7 separate regions of the Homo sapiens genome follow, and all the other regions are linked to region 1. Evidence: promoter capture Hi-C in 16 types of primary human blood cells and fetal thymus (Javierre and others, 2016). All regions are on one chromosome and are shown on one strand. Each heading gives the region's core, a stretch centred on a gene start or on the middle of the fragment in contact. The rest is flanking DNA. Distances are from core to core; before and after follow the strand shown. Region 1 holds the start of PYROXD1 (pyridine nucleotide-disulphide oxidoreductase domain 1). Region 2 overlaps ETNK1 (ethanolamine kinase 1). Region 3 overlaps C2CD5 (C2 calcium dependent domain containing 5). Region 4 has its middle 98 kb from the start of C2CD5. Region 5 overlaps C2CD5 (C2 calcium dependent domain containing 5). Region 6 has its middle 3.4 kb from the start of C2CD5. Region 7 overlaps C2CD5 (C2 calcium dependent domain containing 5).

Evidence for each region. The method cuts DNA at HindIII sites, captures the fragments that hold promoters and counts their contacts. A CHiCAGO score of 5 or more calls a contact.
Region 2: a fragment that was not itself captured here is called in contact with the fragment with the promoter of PYROXD1 in region 1 in 9 of 17 cell types (non-activated CD4 T cells, total CD8 T cells, total B cells and 6 more); the score reaches 11.7 in non-activated CD4 T cells.
Region 3: a contact is called between a fragment that was not itself captured here and the fragment with the promoter of PYROXD1 in region 1, in 3 of 17 cell types (naive CD4 T cells, non-activated CD4 T cells and total B cells). The highest score is 5.8, in naive CD4 T cells.
Region 4: a fragment that was not itself captured here is called in contact with the fragment with the promoter of PYROXD1 in region 1 in 1 of 17 cell types (total B cells); the score reaches 6.3 in total B cells.
Region 5: a contact is called between a fragment that was not itself captured here and the fragment with the promoter of PYROXD1 in region 1, in 1 of 17 cell types (total B cells). The highest score is 5.4, in total B cells.
Region 6: a fragment that was not itself captured here is called in contact with the fragment with the promoter of PYROXD1 in region 1 in 6 of 17 cell types (total B cells, naive CD8 T cells, non-activated CD4 T cells and 3 more); the score reaches 7.4 in total B cells.
Region 7: a fragment that was not itself captured here is called in contact with the fragment with the promoter of PYROXD1 in region 1 in 2 of 17 cell types (total CD8 T cells and naive CD4 T cells); the score reaches 6.6 in total CD8 T cells.

What each region holds. Positions count from the first base shown.
Region 1 is chr12:21,436,350-21,439,049 of GRCh38, forward strand. It overlaps PYROXD1 (pyridine nucleotide-disulphide oxidoreductase domain 1), which reads left to right and starts at 1,306. Exons shown (of 12, transcript NM_024854.5): 1 at 1,306-1,465. The coding sequence starts at 1,382. RefSeq lists enhancers at 1,135-1,214, 1,265-1,454. The HindIII fragment of the contact is 2,746 bases long and covers 1-1,871 here.
Region 2 is chr12:22,628,193-22,630,931 of GRCh38, forward strand. The region is part of intron 1 of ETNK1 (ethanolamine kinase 1); the gene reads left to right. Among named protein-coding and RNA genes, the nearest start is that of ETNK1, 4.4 kb to the left of the region's middle. The HindIII fragment of the contact is 1,989 bases long and covers 273-2,261 here.
Region 3 is chr12:22,530,025-22,532,724 of GRCh38, forward strand. The region is part of intron 3 of C2CD5 (C2 calcium dependent domain containing 5); the gene reads right to left. Among named protein-coding and RNA genes, the nearest start is that of C2CD5, 13 kb to the right of the region's middle. The HindIII fragment of the contact is 925 bases long and covers 931-1,855 here.
Region 4 is chr12:22,444,753-22,447,452 of GRCh38, forward strand. No RefSeq gene overlaps it. Among named protein-coding and RNA genes, the nearest start is that of C2CD5, 98 kb to the right of the region's middle. The HindIII fragment of the contact is 156 bases long and covers 1,294-1,449 here.
Region 5 is chr12:22,489,664-22,492,363 of GRCh38, forward strand. C2CD5 (C2 calcium dependent domain containing 5) reads right to left here. Exons shown (of 27, transcript NM_001286176.2): 12 at 460-555. Among named protein-coding and RNA genes, the nearest start is that of C2CD5, 54 kb to the right of the region's middle. The HindIII fragment of the contact is 624 bases long and covers 1,064-1,687 here.
Region 6 is chr12:22,546,495-22,549,353 of GRCh38, forward strand. No RefSeq gene overlaps it. Among named protein-coding and RNA genes, the nearest start is that of C2CD5, 3.4 kb to the left of the region's middle. The HindIII fragment of the contact is 951 bases long and covers 887-1,837 here.
Region 7 is chr12:22,468,296-22,470,995 of GRCh38, forward strand. C2CD5 (C2 calcium dependent domain containing 5) reads right to left here. Exons shown (of 27, transcript NM_001286176.2): 21 at 2,529-2,616; 22 at 1,414-1,500. Among named protein-coding and RNA genes, the nearest start is that of C2CD5, 75 kb to the right of the region's middle. The HindIII fragment of the contact is 552 bases long and covers 1,161-1,712 here.

The DNA of each region.
Region 1 (2,700 bases), core at 56-2,555:
GTTGATGAGTTAGCCAGGGAAAAGTAGTTGGGAAAAAGATATGTGCAAATGCTCAGAAAGAAAATGGCATATCCTGGGATCTGGAAGTGTAGTGTGGCCTGAATGGAACACAGTGTGAGTGAGATAATGTGAAAATAAGCTGAAGCAAGATGAGATCTAAATGGGCTTAAGGAATGTATTTCCTCCTCCTAGAAATGAATGCTTTGTTTGGTTGCTATACTAGTAACAGGAATTAGACACGTTTATTAAACCGCTTACCATTTAACTTGGTAAATCAAAGAACAATGATTTTTACAGGTATCAGTAAATGCCTGTAATTAGATACGTGGTAGGCTTTCCTGTTAATATATAATGGTTATTCTCAGTGTTTAAAGAATTAAAGGGACTCGGGTAATTACCAGTTTTAGAGTGAACCATTTGAGAGATAATACCTTACCATTACAAAACAACTCCTAGGGAAAGTTATATGAGACAGCAAAGGTAATAGTAAATAGTAAAATAATATGAATAGTGAATAATATAGTAAAAACAGTTAAAAATGATTTAGCAATTTCTTAAAAACAATTGACCACGAAAAAAATTCACAGTAAAACCGAGACTGGGAATATTTCATTCAACCCTCACACATGCTGCTATTGACTGGAAATTTAAGAAATGTTCATTTGTTTTGACAAAATGGAAAGCAACTGTACATTCTTCCTGGAAACTTTAGCTGAGGTCAAAGTTGTAAATGAAAAGGATGATTTTTTAGAGAACAATTCAGTAGTATTGTTTTGCCTTGTCATGAAGAATTTTTGTGCTTCCACAAACAAAAATCTTGGATTGTTAGGTGAACGGTGGCAATCAAGTGGTTTTCAGAAGACTCAAGTTTCTTCATCTACAAAAATGACAGGAGTGGGGTCAGGATGTTCCCGAAGGCTCCTTCTACTCATAAGAGCATAAAATCTGTGCCTCTAATTTCTCGCAGAAACAAATAATGAGAACTTCACACCAATTCATTTATTATATGAATGTTTTGTCCCGTGAGAACACTGGTCTATCTTTAGATATGTAATTTATCAAACTTCTTTGGGCAACCCATCTTCTTTACTTTTTTATTTTTAATTTTTTGGTTTTCTCTTTGTCAAATTTTCATGGAATAACTACATTCAGGTGTAGTAATAGTAACGCAAAGCTCTGAACACCACGAGACAATTCGTTGCTTCCGAAACGCAGCCGGCAGCAGGTACTCGAGATGAGTAGTGTGAGCTCCCGAGCACCCGTAGGTCGGATTATCTGGTAAGGCACCGGAAGTGACCGCCTCGCGGCTGCTTCCTCTCCTGGAGTCCAGAGTCCCGTTGCTCCGCCGCGATATTCAGTAAACCACTGGGAGTCCGGCAGCATGGAGGCAGCGCGCCCTCCCCCGACGGCAGGGAAGTTCGTGGTGGTCGGCGGCGGCATCGCGGGCGTCACTTGTGCGGAGCAGGTAGGGCGGTGCTCAGGCGGTTCCGCCTCTTTCCCCGACCCCAAAGGGGATAGCACTGGAGGCCTTCCTCCCACCCCCTCCCTTTTTCTTCTTCCGGGTTCCTTTTTTGCTGCGCCCTTTTCCGCACTTATTGCTCCCAGATTTTAGAAACTGCTTGGTGGTCCTCAGATGACCTCACTAGCTTTCTCTTAGGCGCAGGGAGGAGTGGGAGGCAAATTATAGCCGAGAAACCAAAGCTGGCTGATCCGTGCTCAGATCCTTGTAATGTCAGAGCAGACATGAGGACTTTGTATTTAGACAAAAAATTCAGCCCCCTTTCTTTTTATTTTTTTTTCTTTTTCTTTGAGACGGAGTCTCACTCTGTCGCCCAGACTGGAGGGCAGTGGTGCGATCTTGGCTTAATGCAAGCTTTGCCTCCCGGGTTCAAGCGATTCTTCTGTTGCGTCAGCCTGTAGCTGGGATTACAGGCGCCAGCCACCACGCCCCGCTAATGTTTGTATTTTTAGTAGAGACGGGCTTTCACCATGTTGGCCAGGCTGGTCTCGAACTCCTGGGCTCAAGCAGTCTGCCCGCTTCCGCCTACCGAAGTGCTGGCATTACAGGCCTGAGCCACAGCACCCGGCCCTCAGCCCCCTTTGTTAATTATCGTAGGTGATTGAGTTTAGTTTCCAGATAGTTGCCAAGTCTTTAGTGCATCTTAACTAATTAATAAAGAATCCCATATGTAAGTTTTCTATACTTCGAACTCCCAAGATAGAAGAAACTTTATTTCTAGTAAAGTTTTGTAAAATAATCAGCGAAGGATTAAATGCATGTAGGGCTTGCTTTCTTGATTATACTGAATAGCCAGACCATATATATTCAGATACATGTGTGTATTCCAAAAAGTTCTACATTATTTTGTTGATATAAAGTAAACATGAGCAATCACTGAAGTCATAAGAAATAGTGGAAGAAACTCAAGTGTTTCCATCGTTGGATGCGTATTTTCCGTTTATTCACTAAGTAAACATATATGATGCAGGCACCGTATTAAGGGCTGAGTGTTCAACTATGAACAGCATGGTATATACCATGCTGGGGACTCACAGCCTGCTGGAAGAGACAATATTACAATATTGTATGTCTATGCAAGAGATATCAACGGTTATCTTAGAGGTGCCTGTGGAGTATGTAGGGAGTGAATTAGGGAAGAGGAAATTTTTTTAATCAAAGAAGGTATTTTTAAAATCTCA
Region 2 (2,739 bases), core at 17-2,516, 1.2 Mb after region 1:
GGTACTGTTAATATGTATCATATAGTTAATGAAACTGAATTTGCCGTTTACAAATGGCAGATCTGAGATGATAAACCATCTTATGAATTATTGTTCTATGACCAAGAGTTTTGTTTGTATATTATGATTTAGGCAGGGAAGGTGCTTCTGTATAAAATTAATTTCTTAAAAGCTTTGGCTCATAAAAAGATTCTGCTTTAAAGTTCCCTTGAACATAAATTTGCATTACTTTTTTCATATGTGACACCATTTTAGGAAAAAGGGATTACTTAAGCTTTCCTTCACGAGTTACTTTTGTTGTGTAACAACTGTTTAACTTATTTGAAGATTTTGATTTTTAATTTTTATACTTTTCTTTGGAGAGTCATCGTATAAAGGAATAAAGAATCAAGTCAGATCTCAGGTCCATAATAATTCTCAACGGACTCTTAAAATTGTTTTTCATTTTCTGAAGAGCTGATGAATTAGTGTTTGGAATATTCCAGTTATGTTGTCTCAGGGTCTTTCTGTTTGCAGTATTAAGCAACGTTGTTTTTCTCACTAACTTGTCACTATGAATTTTTCCATTACTTGGGACTTATAGTAGATAATGGCAAAGGCTTCATAGGTAGGAATTAATACCGTAATTATTATTTAACATTACAAAACTAATATATTTATTCCTTTGTTGGGTCTAAATGAGATTGCTTGCTATATGGTACCTTATAGCAACTTAGCTTTTCAATAACAGTGTGTTACAGTGCTCAAGAGCATGGGGTTTGAACACAGTGCTAGTTTTGAGTCCAGATTCTATACTTTACTAGCTTTGTTACTCTGGTCAAATCATTAAACTTCCTGTCTCAGTATCCTGAGCTGTAAAATTGATCCAGTAGTTGTCCCTACCTCAATGGGTTATTGTGAGGGTAAAATAAATGCTGTCTTTCATGATAATTATTATTGCTGCTGAGCACCTACTATATATTGGATACTTGAATCAAAAAACAAATATTTGCTCTTTGAAATTCCTAGTCCGATGGGGAAGACAAATAAGAAAATTATAACAACGTAATGTTTATGGAATGAACATTCAAATTTAGTTCACATGCAAAGATTACCCAAGAAGTTTAAAAAATGTACTGTTCTTTCTGCTTTACTACAGGTTTTTGCCTGTTATTGAATGCATATTTTAAAAAATCTTTTCATCATTTTTTTAAGCATATGTATTCTATCATGGAAATTAATCTTTGTGTTAGGTTGTGTAGCTACACAGCAGTTTTCATATCCTTCCTCTTTCTAACAGTGTTGGAGGTAGTTACCTAAATAATCTATTAAAAACCTGTAACTCCTCTTAATATTGATAGTTGATATTTTATATTGGTCTTTGCCTTAAAGGAAGAAGAAAAAGCCAGATCTATACAATTGCTGTGTTAAGTTATGTCTCCACTAGTGTTCTGATATAATAATTGATTTTCTTTTCTGTTTTTAAAAAGATGAGTTTGTTCCTTTAAGCAGTAGCTTCTGAAAAGTCTTAGGTAAGCTAATGTAGTAAGTTACGGCTAATTTTTTAATATATTAAAAAAGTAAACAATATATTAGTTTACTTTCCCTAAGATTATAGGAAATCTTGAGTCCTGTAGATACAAATAAGGAGTCATGGTTTATATTCAGTGTAACTTTTAATGTTAGTGATTACATCCAGTTTTCTGTTTCCTATTCCCTCCCTGTCTTCAGCATTTTAGAATAATAAAGTATATAATGTTTAATAGACGCCCATCAAAAACATGAAATATTTGTTAGGCTCCCATGTATTTTATTAAGATGTGACTATGAAGACAGGAGCCTAAAGTGCTAGTTTGTTTTCCTGTATAATAGCCATGTAACTTGGACTACACAAACTGCGTCACATCTTTTTGGGGACTGAGCATAATGTGGAAAGAGGATGGTTTTTGAATATTATTTCCAGCCATTTATAACCTTTGGCAAGTTTTAAAGTCTCTATAAAATGGTATTACCTTGGAAAGTAGTCATGAGAATTCAATGAAATACCTACAATTACGCATCGCATGTTTTGGTACTACGTTCTTCCACCTCTCATTTCCAATTCTCCCATCCCAACTGAGAGAATTGTGAGCTCCTAAAATTCAGTAATTCTGACATGTGTTTTTTGTACTAGCTGTAATGCTAGTTTTCAGTAAGAGTCCTTGTACAACTAACTGTAGCACAAGGTAGGCATAGAAGAACGTAGGACAGAAGGCTTCATAGAGGTGGGGGTACCTGAGCTAAGCTTTGAAGGGTAGATGAGATCAGATTGAAAAGGGAAACATTTCTGAGCAAGGAAAACTATCTCACAAAGGCAATGAAGCTAGACTTTGAGTAGCTTACTCATCATTTAGGACATCATGGGAAGCCACTGGATATTTTTCTTTTTGTATTTTATTTTATTTTATTTTATTTTTTTTGAGACAGAGTCTCGCTGTAGCCCAGGCTGGAGTGCAGTGGTGTGATCTCAGCTCACTGCAACCTCCGTTTCCCAGGTTCAAGTGATTCTCGTGCCTCAGCCACCCAAGTAGCTTGGATTACAGATGTGCGCCACCATGCTCAGCTAATTTTTGTATTTTTAGTAGAGTCGGGGTTTCACCATGTTGGCCAGGCTGGTCTCGAATGCCTGACCTCAAGTGATCCACCCACCTCGGCCTCCCAAAATACTGGGATTACAGGCATGAGCCACCGCACCTGGCCTGGATATTTTTAAGCAGGTAA
Region 3 (2,700 bases), core at 143-2,642, 1.1 Mb after region 1:
CTTTCACATAAGAGAAAAACATCTATTTTGCTTAAGACATGTATTTGAGTGCTATATATATATATATATATATATATATATATATATACACACACACACACACACACACACACACAGTGTATATATATTATACACAACTGTATACATAACAACTATATATACAACTGTGTATATATATACAGTATATATATAACTGTATATATACAACTATGTGTATATGTATACATACAACTGTGTATATATATATACACAACTGTGTGTGTATATATATTTAAAACTGAATATATATATATAACTGAATGCAATTAACAACTGATAAACAGGGTTAAAAAAAGTACTACATAATCAATGTTAACTATAAACACAAAGTTTTAAGTACATTTTTCACAGCATATATATTATTCGGGAAGACTAGTCAAAACAGTAACTTACTAAATTTTTTTTTTTTTTTAAGACGGAGTCTCACTCTGTCACCCAGGCTGGAGTGCAATGGCGTGATCTCGACTCACTGCAACCTCTGCCTCCCAGGTTCAAGCGATTCTTGGGCCTCGGCCTCCCACATAGCTGGGATTACAGGTTCACACCACCACACCCGGCTAATTTTTGTATTTTAGTAGAGACGGGGTTTCACTCTGTTGCCCAGGCTGGTCTTGAACCCTGGATCTCAGGTGATTCGCCTGCCTCGGCTTCCCAAAGTCCCAAGATTATAGCTGTGAGCCACTGCACCCAGCCACTAACTTAAGAAATTTTAAGGGAACTGCCTGGTAAATCCCTTATTTCAGAAAATAAATATATTATTTTTCATATTGTTAAGTAAGCTGCTTGAGTACTCACTAGCTTTAAAAAATACCAGTTTATTACCATCATCATTAAAATGAAATATCATTTTTTAATATTTCCTAGTATCATGAAAATTACTCTGACACATGAAGCTTGCCTCCTCCCACCATTCCAATAACAATGTAATGAAAACTATTCGTTTTTAACCATTTCTAGGTTATAGTTGGGGGGGAAAGGCTATCAAAATAAACTATATAAACATCCCAGTGTTTTGCCTGGGTAATGAAGATAGACTCTAATTCTAAATCCATCTGAAATCATGTAAGGAAGTTACTCTGATTATTTTTTGACACATATATTCCACACCTTTACCTTAATAATGTAGTTTAAAATGCCACAATAGACTCAATACATGTGCAACGGGTCTTTCAAAATAGATAGTGGCATTTTAGAAGCAGCTAAAAGAAAAATTTGTACATATACACAAAAGAAAATGAGAAGAGAATCAAAATATTTCACCATGAAAATATCAACTAAAAATATGAATTTGTAGGACTCTCACTTCCTGATTGCAAAACTCACTACAAAGCTATAGTAATCAAAACAGTATGGTAATAGTATAAAGACAGACATACAGACCAATGGAATGGAGTTGAGAGTGCGGAAATAAATCCTTACATCTATGTCCAACTGATTTTTTTTAACTTGCCTCAAAGGTAAAGTCCTAAACAATTTACTGACTTCCAGTTCAATGTTCTAGCAGATAACATGGAAGTCCATTTTAAAAGAGGAGGAGTTTACAGAAACTAGAAATTACCTTCCTTAGAGAGATCCATTTGCTTGAAAACCTTTGGGTAAAAGCTACTGGGAGGTTAAGAATAACTGTTTCTATAACTGAGTCCTTTTGACAGAAGACTGAGACACAGCCAAGCTACTCTGATGAGGTCGTAATTTTGAGAAACACAGTTATATTCCACAGAGATAATAAATAAAAGCTGTCACTGTCCATAAATGCTGAGTCTACAGACGAGGTACACCTTTCTTATACAAACTGAGATTTAATTTTAGCAACAAAAGCTTTTCAAACTGCAGTTCTATTTTTTTAGCACACCTACACCACTCAGACTAATTAAACTATACATTAACGAAAGAACAGAAGATATACCCCAAAATGCTAATATTTAAACCCACTTTCTGCCAAACGCTGAATGTCTATCCAAAATGCTGAGTGATTTAAAAATATTATTCCCAGGCCGGGCATTACGCCTGTAATCCCAGCACTTTGGGAGGCCAAGGTGGGTGGATCACCTGAGGTCGCGAGTTTGAGAACAGCTTGACCAACATGGAGAAACCCTGTCTCTACTAAAAATACAAAATTAGCCAGGTGTGGTGGCGCATGACTGTACTCCCAGCTACTCAAGAGGCTGAGGCAGGAGAATCGCTTGAACCTGAGAGGCAGAGGTTGCAGTGAGCCAAGATCCCACCATTGCCCTCCAGCCTGGGCAACGGGAGTGAAACTCCGTCTCAAAAAAAAAAAAAAGTTTACATATATTATTCTCTTTTTTTTGACTAGTGCAACTCATATTAACATACAGCAACATGCTTCATAGCCACCTCAATACTACTCTGGAAAGAATTCATGTTTGAAAAAAAACAGAGGCTCCAAATGGTAAGGCTGTCTGAGGTCATCTGCAAATTAGCAGGCACCAGAAATAGAATTTGTTTTCTCTTAATCCAGACCTTTAAGCTTTTCCAATAGAGGGCAGCTATGCAGTATCCCAACCACTACAGAATGTGCCTTCCAACACTAAAAGAAAGATCACGGTCCTAATATAAACCATAAGCAAAGCAGCGCCTAAAAATCGTAGTGTCATTTCTTCCATCTTCAGGTATCAGTTTGGCAGGTTCCCCAGCATGATC
Region 4 (2,700 bases), core at 122-2,621, 1.0 Mb after region 1:
TTGAAGGCCCATTATTCTGCTTACCATAGACATTTTGAGGTTTGTTAATATTTAAAAATATAGTCTTTAAAAAAAACTCCAATGAACAAATATTTAAAAGGATTTTTATAGACAACAACAGTCTTACTTTCAAAAAGCAGAGGAACCATTTTTATGTTTTTATTTTTTATATGTAAAAATATAGTCTTTGTTGGAGAGTACGTGGAGAAAAGGGAACCTTGCACGCTGTTGATAAGAATATAAATTAGTACAGCCATTATGGAAAAGAGTCTGGAGGCTTCCCAAAAAATTGAAAATAGTACTACCATACGATCCAGCAATCCCACTACTCTGCATGTTTCCAAGGGATATGAAATCAGTATGTCAAAGAGGTATCTGCACTCTCATGTTCATTACAGCGTTTTTCACAATAGCCAAGTTATGAAATCAACCTAAGTGTCCACAAACAGATAAGTGGATAGAGAAAATATGGTATCTATACACAATGGGATGCTCTTCAGTCTTTAAAAAGAAGGAAATTCTGCCATTTTCAACAACATGAATGAACCTGGAAGACACAATGTTAAGTAAAATAAGCCAGGCAAGAATGACAAATACCACATGATCTTACATAGTATATGTGAAATCTAAAAAAGTTGAACTCATAGAAGTAGATAGTAAAATGGTGGTTGCCAGAGGTGAGGCCTTAGGAGATGTTGGTCAAAGGATACAAAACTTCAATTAAATAGGAGGAATAAGTTCAAGGAGTCTATTGTACAACATGGTGACTACAGTTAATAATGTATTGTGTTCTTGAAAATTGCTAAGAGAAGTAGATTCTCAGTGGTCCCACCACAAAAGAAAAAAGTGAGGTAATGCATATGCTAATTAGCTCAATCTAGTCATTCCACAATGTATATATAATTTAAAACAACTGTTGTACAAGATTAATATCTGCAATCTTTGGCTATTAAAAAAAGTCAAAAAATTATATATAATTATATATCTACTTTATATAAATTCAGATATCAATATAGGTATATTAATATATAATTTATATATAAATATATCTAATTATATAGAAATATGTTATATATATTAAATGTTATATATATTAAATATATATTATATATTATATATATAATATATATAATATATATTAATAATTAATCTATTAACTATTTATATTATATATAAATAATATATTGATTTATATTATAAATATATTTATATTTAATTATATATATATATGTAGAGAGAGAGAGAGATTGAGAGTCTTTATAGTGCCTTGACTTTTCTATTAGAAAGAAGCCAAGCTTCCTAGGATACTATTTATCCAACCATTCCTAACATTTTCTTCAGCGTGGTTCCTTATTCAGCCTGGGGTCAAATAAGTGGTTTCAATAAACCTCCTGAAGTAGTATGCAAAAGTTCATGTATATGCTTATTTTGGGGGACAAAAAGGTCCAAAGCTTAGATCGGATTACCAAAAGTACTCTGAAAATGACCCTCCTCTGAGGGAAAAAGAAAAAAAAGGTTTGTAAATAAATGTGTTGCTTCCACACAACACACATTTTTATGCTTCCACGTCTTTATGCACTGGTGCCATGAGATTAGGTGGCGTATTGGGAAGAGGATAGGTTTTGATCTCCCAGACTTCCGATTCAAGCTAAACCGGCTAAGTAGTAACAACATTTATGGAAATAAGAAATAGTAAATTTTTACTGATGGAGACATACTAACAAAAGAGCAATTCAAGATGTATGAAAATTGATGAAGCTTAAGGACAGCCCCCCCACACCAAAAAAAAAATCAAAGAGAGAATAGAGGTCAATTTAACTAAGAAGCTAAAAAAAAGGAAAGATGGTCACACTGTCCATAACAAAAAGTATAGATATTGTGAAAAGTTACTGTAAAGATAGACAACAAAATAGGGGGGAAATTGTCACACACAGCAGATTAAATATTAACAAGAAAAAGTCAACCCCATAGGACAGAAATTTTCATTTTCACAAAAAAAGTGCAAACTCAAATGCAAAATAGCTCTATTATTCCTACTGGCCAAAAATGTTGTCCATGCATAGACGCATCTCAAAAAGCATTATGCCAAATGAAAGTTGCTGAGCACAAGATCCCACTGACATGGAAGGGGGAGTAGACTGACTGCAGAGGGACACCAGGGAACTTTATTGGTGATGGAAACGTTCCATATCTTGGCTACATGATGGAATATATTTGCCAACCTCAAACTATACACTTAAAATAGATGAATTTTGTTGAATTTAAATTATATCTAACAGATTTTTCAAAATATGTAAGGACACACACTAGGTTATTAACATGGATTGGAAGGGATGTGATAGGGAAGAAGAGCAAACCAGGCAAAAGGGTAAAAAAGAAAACTACTCTAAACATTGTTTATATAATCCCATTTATGCACTTATGAAAAAGCTGTATGCATTAAAAAAAAACTCACCAAATAATACTGCAAGACTGCAATCCAATACTTATATCTTTGGCATGTTCAAATTCAAGGGCAGAACAGGTGATAAAAGCCAGATGACAATGCATCATGGGAGAGAAGGAGGTGGAGGAAGTGCGACAGTGAGTTCGTTTAAATTGAGTCGTTGCCCCTAGAAGCAGTGATGAAAGATGAAGGGCATGTTAAGCCTGCTGTAAATGCTGTAAACTGGCCTATTTCCAAGAGTAAGTCCCAGCATG
Region 5 (2,700 bases), core at 126-2,625, 1.1 Mb after region 1:
ACGGAAGGACCATATATATTATATCTACAGATAATCTTGATAAAATGCAGTACTTTTACTATTTTGTAAATTAAGAATTGTTTTTTATAAAAATTGTTTCATAACCTCTTTCTGTTTTTGGAGGTGAGACACAGGGAAATGAAAGGAAGAGAAAGATCCAAAGATTATTTCTATATCATGACAAAGCAAAAAAAAATGGACACCTGAAATTCTTCAACTGGTAATCATACATGTCACTTATCAAGACACTAGAAACAATAATGTGTGCCATATAGTGCAGAATCCAATACTCCTCTGTTACTACGGGTTAGTTAAAAATTAGTGAAGTGCTTGGTCCTGATTTCTACACTGTACCCCTGTAAGCCACCCTACGGAGAAGAATTATCCCAACTCTCAGAAAAAAAGTCGACCTCTCCCTTCTCTGCCCTTATAGAAAATAAGCCAGGCTGCCATGACAACCTCTGTTCCAAACAGCCTTCCACGGTGCCATCCTGCAGAAATCTAGGATTCAGTACAGCCGCTGTGCCAGATGCAGATAAAATGCAGACCTCTTCACTATAAAGGAAAAAACACAAACAAGTTAACATTTTTCAGACCGTATAACTTTGGGAAATGCTAAATATCAAAATAATTATAACAGTGACAATTTAAGTTCAAGTTAGACTCTACTCAATATTAAATAATATTTACGAGGTTTACCTCCTAAACCTAGCCTAGAAAACAGAAGTAACTTTATTTGAATGGAGGGAAAGAATTCTTCATAAATTAAAAACTGAAAAAAGATAAAAGTATTAATATTAAAGACAATAACTTCATTTAAAATATGGCAAGGCTGAAAGAATGAAATGTTTCAAAATATAAGCAGTAATAAATTGTATTGCTGAATCTAGCATTAATCAATGAAACTATATTAAAATACTCTTTAAATGTATATGAAGTTTTATTAAAATTATTCTAAAAGCACAACTATGTAAATATCTCTATATAGGTGATTTATATAGCTTAATCTAAATTTAAATCATTATAAAGGTTTCTGAAACAATATACAAAATATACTAAATGAAGCTTAAACTACATCATCATATAACAGAAAACTGATATTCAAAATAATTTTTAAATTATTATATGTCACCCAATTTGAAAGCTAAAAAATTAAACAATCAACATAATTATTGAATGAGATCACCTAAACAAATGAGAAAAGTAGCAACCTAGGGATGAACTGCTGAAAACCAGGTATAAATAAAACCCAGAAATAAAATAAAACAGAAGCCTAAGAGAACAAGGGAGGAACAGTCACTTGAACTGTAAATAAAATAAAGGAAGACCAGGCTTAAAGTGTAGGTAGGAATTAAGGATGTCAGAAGGAATAACATGAAACCACTGATGTCTTCGAATCAAGAAGTTATAAGAGCAGAAGTGCATTTCAGAGAGTTTAATCCAGTAACAGAAAGTAGCATGGGCTGGAACAGAAAAGATTAGTTAAAATTTAAATACACAGATGTTTTTGAGGTCTAGAAAGGACCTCTGTCAGATGACATCTGTCAGATGAACTCAAACTTCTAGGTAAATTAACTGAACTCATTTGCAGACTCCTCCATCTGTGACCTATCATCAGCCATCCTGAGTCTACATCCTGTGGCCTTCTTTTTTTTGCTACTCTTTTAAGTGTTGAATGCATCTTGTAAGCTTTGAAACCTCTCCTTATGCCTCTTCTTTTTATTTATATAATTCATATTCATCCCCCAAAATCCAACTCAAGCATCAGTTACTTCATTGACATTTTCTTCCAATTCTACTTTGAGCTTTCAGCCCTCTAGGATCCCAAAGCATCCTATATCTCAATCTTAAAATTTATTTTACATCATAATTATCCAGTAGAATGTAAATGTGATACCAAGAACTATGCCTTCTAAAACCATATCTCTGGCCGGGTGTGGTGGCTTACGCCTGTAATCCCAGCACTTTGGGAGGCCGAGGTGGACAGATCACGAGGTCAGGAGTTCGAGATCAGCCTGACCAACATGGCGAAACCCCATCTCTACTAAAAATATGAAAATTAGCCAGACAGGAAGGCAGGCACCTGTAATCCCAGCTACTAAGGAGGCTAAGGTGGGAGAATCACTTGAACCCGGGAGGTGGAGGTTGCAGTGAGCCAAAATCACACCATTGCACTCCAGCCTGAGTGAAAGAGTGAAACTCTATCTCAAAAAACAAAAAAAAAAACGACAACAACAAAAAACATTTTTCTAAGGCCTCAAAGTTTATGACATTAAAACCATCAATGTGGCAAGACAACTAGGGAGTAAGGCAAGATAAGCTTGACAAAGTTAGTAGTTAACAAGAGTAGAACCGCTACTATGGGAATAAACAGTCTAGGAGTATAACACATGATCTGCAAAGGAAAAGAAAAGCCCACAGAAGATTAAATAATATGGCTCTGTAATGACCACATTTACTACAGTTTAATTCTTTTTCCCTAACAATAAGGATCACCACAAGAGCAGAGGATCTAACAGTAAGAATTACCTAAGAATAGATGGTAGAAAAATAAGATAACAGAAGGTTAAACAGTTTCTAGATGATATCAACTGTAAACTTCTGAAGGGCTGAAAGTAGGGTTCAAGGATGGCAAAAGAACAAAAAAAGCCAGAAACTAAGTAAGGAGCTGAGAAAACAACTGGTTAAGGTAAGGGTCAA
Region 6 (2,859 bases), core at 112-2,611, 1.1 Mb after region 1:
TAGCTCACTACAGCCTCAATCTTCTGGGCCAAGCGATCCTCCCACCTCAGCCCCCCAAGTTCCTGGGACTACAAGCACATACCACCATGCACCGCTAGTTTTTTAAATTTTTTGAAGAGATGGAGTCTCCCTGTATTGCCCAGGCTGGTCTCAATCCTGGTTTAAGCCATCCTCCTGCCTTGACCTCACAAAGTGGTGGGATTACAGGCATGAGCCATCTTGCCCGGCATGATCAGTGTTTTTTGTTGTTTTGGGTGGTAGAGTTGAAGTCGTTTTTGTGGTGAAATCGAAGTATTACCGTATTACCAACTCATTTTTTAAAATATGAAATGTATAAAGAAAAAATATTAGAAAATTGAAGTTTAGCACCAATATTAATGGAAAATAATGCATTGTGTTCCAAAATGTAAAAAGTTGCAAATTGCACAATTAGAGGTTAGCAATCTCAGCCTCCTAATTAGTAGACTTTGAGGTACTTGTACGTACTTGTTGCCTTAGGCTTCATCAACAAGAGATTATAATTAAGATGCTTCCTGAAAACTATTTTTAGTAGATTTAAGCCTGACTTCAGTTGAACTGTTTCCTAATAATTGTTCTCGTTTGTTTTCATTAATGCTGGGAACAGTGCTAACTTTCTGACAAATCTACCATGATGTGACTCCTGATTACCTTGTTTAGCTTCATACCCTGACACTCTTTTTGCATTTTAAATTATCAATAACAAGAATTAACGTGTATTGATGGTTTGCCGCACACCAGCTACTGAATTCAGCGTTTCACAGCTGTTAAGGCTCCCTAAAATCCTGAGGTAGGAATTATCAGCCTTCATTTTATAAATGAGAAAATTATGGCTTTTCAAAGCTCTGGTGATTACCCAAGGTCACAAAGCTTCTAATGATAGAGGCAGGTTTTAAATCTAGACAATGTGATTCCAAGAACTCACGTCTTTGAAGATTACATGTAGTTTTCTAATAAACTATACTTTTCCTTCTTCCTGGAGTATCTCTCTCATAGTCATCCTACCAAATAGCTATGAATTCATAACTCAGTTCAAAAGTCAATACTCTGGTTTCTCTTTAGAGTGTATAAATCTTTTGCCTTTTACAAAAGTCACTTCTACATCTTCTCTAATCTCCTTCCTAATAAATATGCTCTTCACTCCCACCTATGCTACTACTAAATCTAATACATTTGTTATTATACTTTCCATGCAATAATTATTTATCCATCTCTCTCCCCCCCAACCCCCACTAAACCATGAGCACTCTGAGGGAATGGATTGCTTCTCACTCATCTCTCAATTCTCAGTTCTTTGTCCTGTGCCCTTCATGTGATCAACAAATTATTGTGGAATTAAATTAACAGTTAACACTTGCTATTACTACTTAGATTGCTCTTCTTTCCTGGCTTCCTAAAATGTTCCTGTTAATCTTTCCCATTCTTTCAGGTTAAATTACTCAAGGGTTGTCAGTACTTGGTGCCCTCTCCTCACTTCCTAAGCGCTCCAAAAACTATTAATATCTGGGTTTAGCCACCACCACTCTACAAAAACAGCTTTCACTAATGCCATCAATAACCTCTGGTTGCTAAATGCAATGAACACTTTTTTTAGTTTTAAGTTTTTATTTTTGAGATGGGGTCTTGCTGTGTTGCCCAGACTGGTCTCAAACCCTTGGGTTCATGCAGTCCTTCTGCCTCAGGCTCCCAAGTTGCTGAGACTACAGGCACGTGCCACCATGCCTGGCTTCAGTTTTTTATTTACGTGACTCTCAGTAGCATTTGATGCTGTTGACCACGCTGTCCTTAAAATAATCTTCCTCTTGGTATTCAGAAACCAAGCTTCTCTTACCTATTCTGGTTTATACATCTGTCTTCTCAGCCTACTCATTGTCCTTAACTATTAAATATGTGTTTTTCTCAGGTTCAGTTTTTGTCTCTATTCTCTTCCAACTGTACTGTCTCCCTAGGTGATCTCATCCAAGCTCACAATTTTAATTTCCATCTGTTTAGTCAGGGACTCTCAAATCGTTATCTTTAGTCTGTAACTCGCTTCTGGGATCTTGACCCATATATGCAACTGCCAAGTTACTATTTCCATTTGGAGTATCAAAGTGACCTCAAAAGTCAAGATGTCCAAAAGTGACCTCAAAAGTCAAGATGTCCAAAACTGACCTGATTTTCTTTACCTTTCCCATAACTACAACAACGAGAATGACAACAACAACAACAAAAGACCTGGTAGTCTTCTACTAAACAGCAATGCCAACTACATAGTCAATTGCTCAAGCCAGAAACTCACTGATTTAAGTTTGAAAGTGGGCTGGGATTACAAGTATAATTATACAAATGACAACTTGGGCTCAGTTCAGTTACTTTTGCTTTGATTTTTTTTTTTCCTTTGGGCCAGGGTCCCACTCTGTTACCCAGGCTACAGTGCGGTGGCAAGATCACAGTTCACCACAGCCTCAACCTCCCAGGCTCAGGTGATCCTCCAACCTTAGCCTCCTGAATAGCTGGGACTGCAGGCGCACACCACCACATCTGGCTAATTTTTATATTTTAGTAGAGATGAGGTCTCCCCATGTTGCCCAGGCTGATCTCGAACTCTTGGGCTCAAGTGATCTGCCTGCCTCATCCTCCCAAAGTGCTAGGATTGCAGGTGTGAGCCACCATGTGGCTCACTTTTGCTTTGATTAAGGAGTAAAAATGAGATAAGTAGGCATCTAGGTAAACTCATCATCTTATTAGTTCCCTTGTATCTTAATGTACCATGGGCATAAGGTACCATACCATACTTAATGTACCATGGGCATAAGGACTGCATCAAGTAAAATATTCTCTAAATTGGAAGATTATTGC
Region 7 (2,700 bases), core at 187-2,686, 1.0 Mb after region 1:
GTAGCCTTAACCTCCTGGGATCAAGCAATCCTCCCACCTCAGCCTCCCACGGAGCTAGGATCACAGGTGCACACCACCACATGCAGCTCATTATTTATTTTTTGTAGAGCTGGGGTCTCACTGTGTTGCCCAGGCTGGTCTTAAGCTCCTGGATTCAAGCGATCTTCTCGCCTCAGCCTCTCAAAGTGCTGGGATTACAGGTATGAGCCAACAGGCCCGGCCCAAAGAAGACTCTTGACAGTTCTGCTTTCTGCCTGGAAGCTGTATTTAATTCATAAATCTGAACTCACATTACCTTTGAATTTGATTTTTCCTCTCTATTCTTTCAAGGACATTGAGATATGCTACAATTCTCTATGGAGTTCTAAATCAGAATTTTGGGTGATCACAAAAAGGAAAAAGGACCACAGTTACTACGTTACAAAGTTCAGAATCTGGAAGCAGCTTATTTTTCGTCTTTGAAATATGAGACAAGATCTATTTATCTATATAAACAGACTTTGTACTGATTTAATAAAGATTCTATTGACATATATGTAAAGTGAATATAAAACTATTCTGTATTATACATAATTTGGTATCAAATAACAAGTAGGAATCATAAAATAATATCCATTGTATTATAAGACATAAAAGTTGAATAGCTCATTTCAAATAACTATCATTTCTCAAAATAAATTTAGTGAAAAACACATACTACATTTATCTAATACATAATGCTACAAAATAAGGCATAGTAATTTTAAATTTTTTTGTAATAAAAATCATACTAAAATCAGATGAGAAATGGAAAACAATACCTCCCACTTTTCCCCAAAGATTATGCAGATCAAAATAGATTTATTGCTATTAAATTAAGGAGCTATCAATTTGCACTGGAAAAAAAACATGGCAGTGTCTTATATAAGTACATAACAATGTTCTTCAATTATTGCCACAGCAAAGACAGGAAGCTCATCGCTTTCTCACTTGTACTACTCCCACTCAAAACCTCTTCATGTATCTTCTGGAAAAAAAAAAGCATTCTGTTGTGCATGAAAATCCAAAACTTTTTGTGAAGGTTTAATTGTTGCTGGAAAAAACTTACCAAATATAATATAAAATATCAAGTATTCTATGTGTGAATAGTTACAGTGGGAAATCCAAACCTTTGAAAATAAAGCTTTAATACATTAAGGTATGAGAATAGAATATCATAGGAAAAATTACCTTAATAACTTAGAATGAAATTACTTCAGAAATTAAAATAAAAGGAACATTAATTTCTCCCCTTTATGAATATGAAGAAACATATAATGAGGGAATGAAGGATAAATTTTCACCTCAAGGTTAGTAAGATTTCCTATAATGAAGAAGCAGTGAAAGGAACTAGAAACCAGGATTTGTGTTTGCTTTTTCCCTCACTTAACCAACCTTTAGCTGGTGGAAAAGGATGAGAAGGAAGTGAATCTGAACACAGTTCCAGTGGAAATTGTAAAAGTTCTTCATTATCTGTTGAGGCTAGAAAGGCAAGAAAATATCAGTTATTTAGTAATGATCTATTATTAATTTTTTAAAATTAAGAATCTGTGACAACATACATATACATATTCTCAGCTCCATCTCCCCACCCCAATTTATTCTGGTCATTTTCTCCTTGATTTCTCCCATGGAAACCATTCATCTGCATGATGCTGAGACTGGTGCTATCTTCCCTGGTATGACTCTTGTGAAGCTTTAAGAGATTAATATCTGTAACTCACTTAGCACAGTGCTTTGCAAATAATAAATGCTAGACAATAATTAATATCCTATACTTTGTCCATTACTAGCTTTTGTGATACTTAAACCGGTTACATGTCTTCTTTGATAAATATCTGAACACATAATCATTTAATACATCTACCTGACATTAACTCACTGCTCAAATCTTATCAATGCTATACATGTAGAATGTAATCAACTTTTAAAAGTTTAGGACTAATCAGGAATATTTCATTTAGCCAGTAAATCATTCAAACTATACAAGAAAGTATAGTATCCCCCATTATGTGTTTTTCAGAACACACAGTTTCCAATAATTTGGATTTCTTCAGAATATATATTAAGACTACTTCCTAAATTTTACTGGATTAAGGCCACCTTTGTGAATCTGTTGAACACTATGGAACTTGTCCTGAAAATAATACACAGGCACACAATTGTGCTTACTACATCAGTAGGTCCTCAGATGCCTTGAAGACCTTGCCAGAGATCTTAGTATAGAAACCCTTATATTACTGCAGAATTAATAGGCTATAATTTAAGTCTAAAAAACCAGCAGCATTCTCTATGTAAACATCAGTCAAATACCACCCAGTCGCGTGTGAAAAATATCAAGTCAGCCATACGCTTATCCACACAGTTATCTTCATAAAGATGAACAGAAAAAGCAGCAAATATTCTTCAAGAAATAAGTAATTTATTGAATCCACCTGTCCTGTATATTTTATCACTGAACCATAACACAGACAAACACAAACTGAACTTCCTATTCAGTAAAGATTTACCTCTTTGCAATGACTTTTCAACAGGGGTTTTTGTGGTTTGTAAAGCCTGATTTTTGTCAAAAGTGATTGCGACTGCCGTGACTGTAACCTAGAATTATAAAAACAATAATGGTTAGCAAAATAATCACTGCCAAAACTAAGTTTCTTACATATTTTTTTCAGTACCACGGAA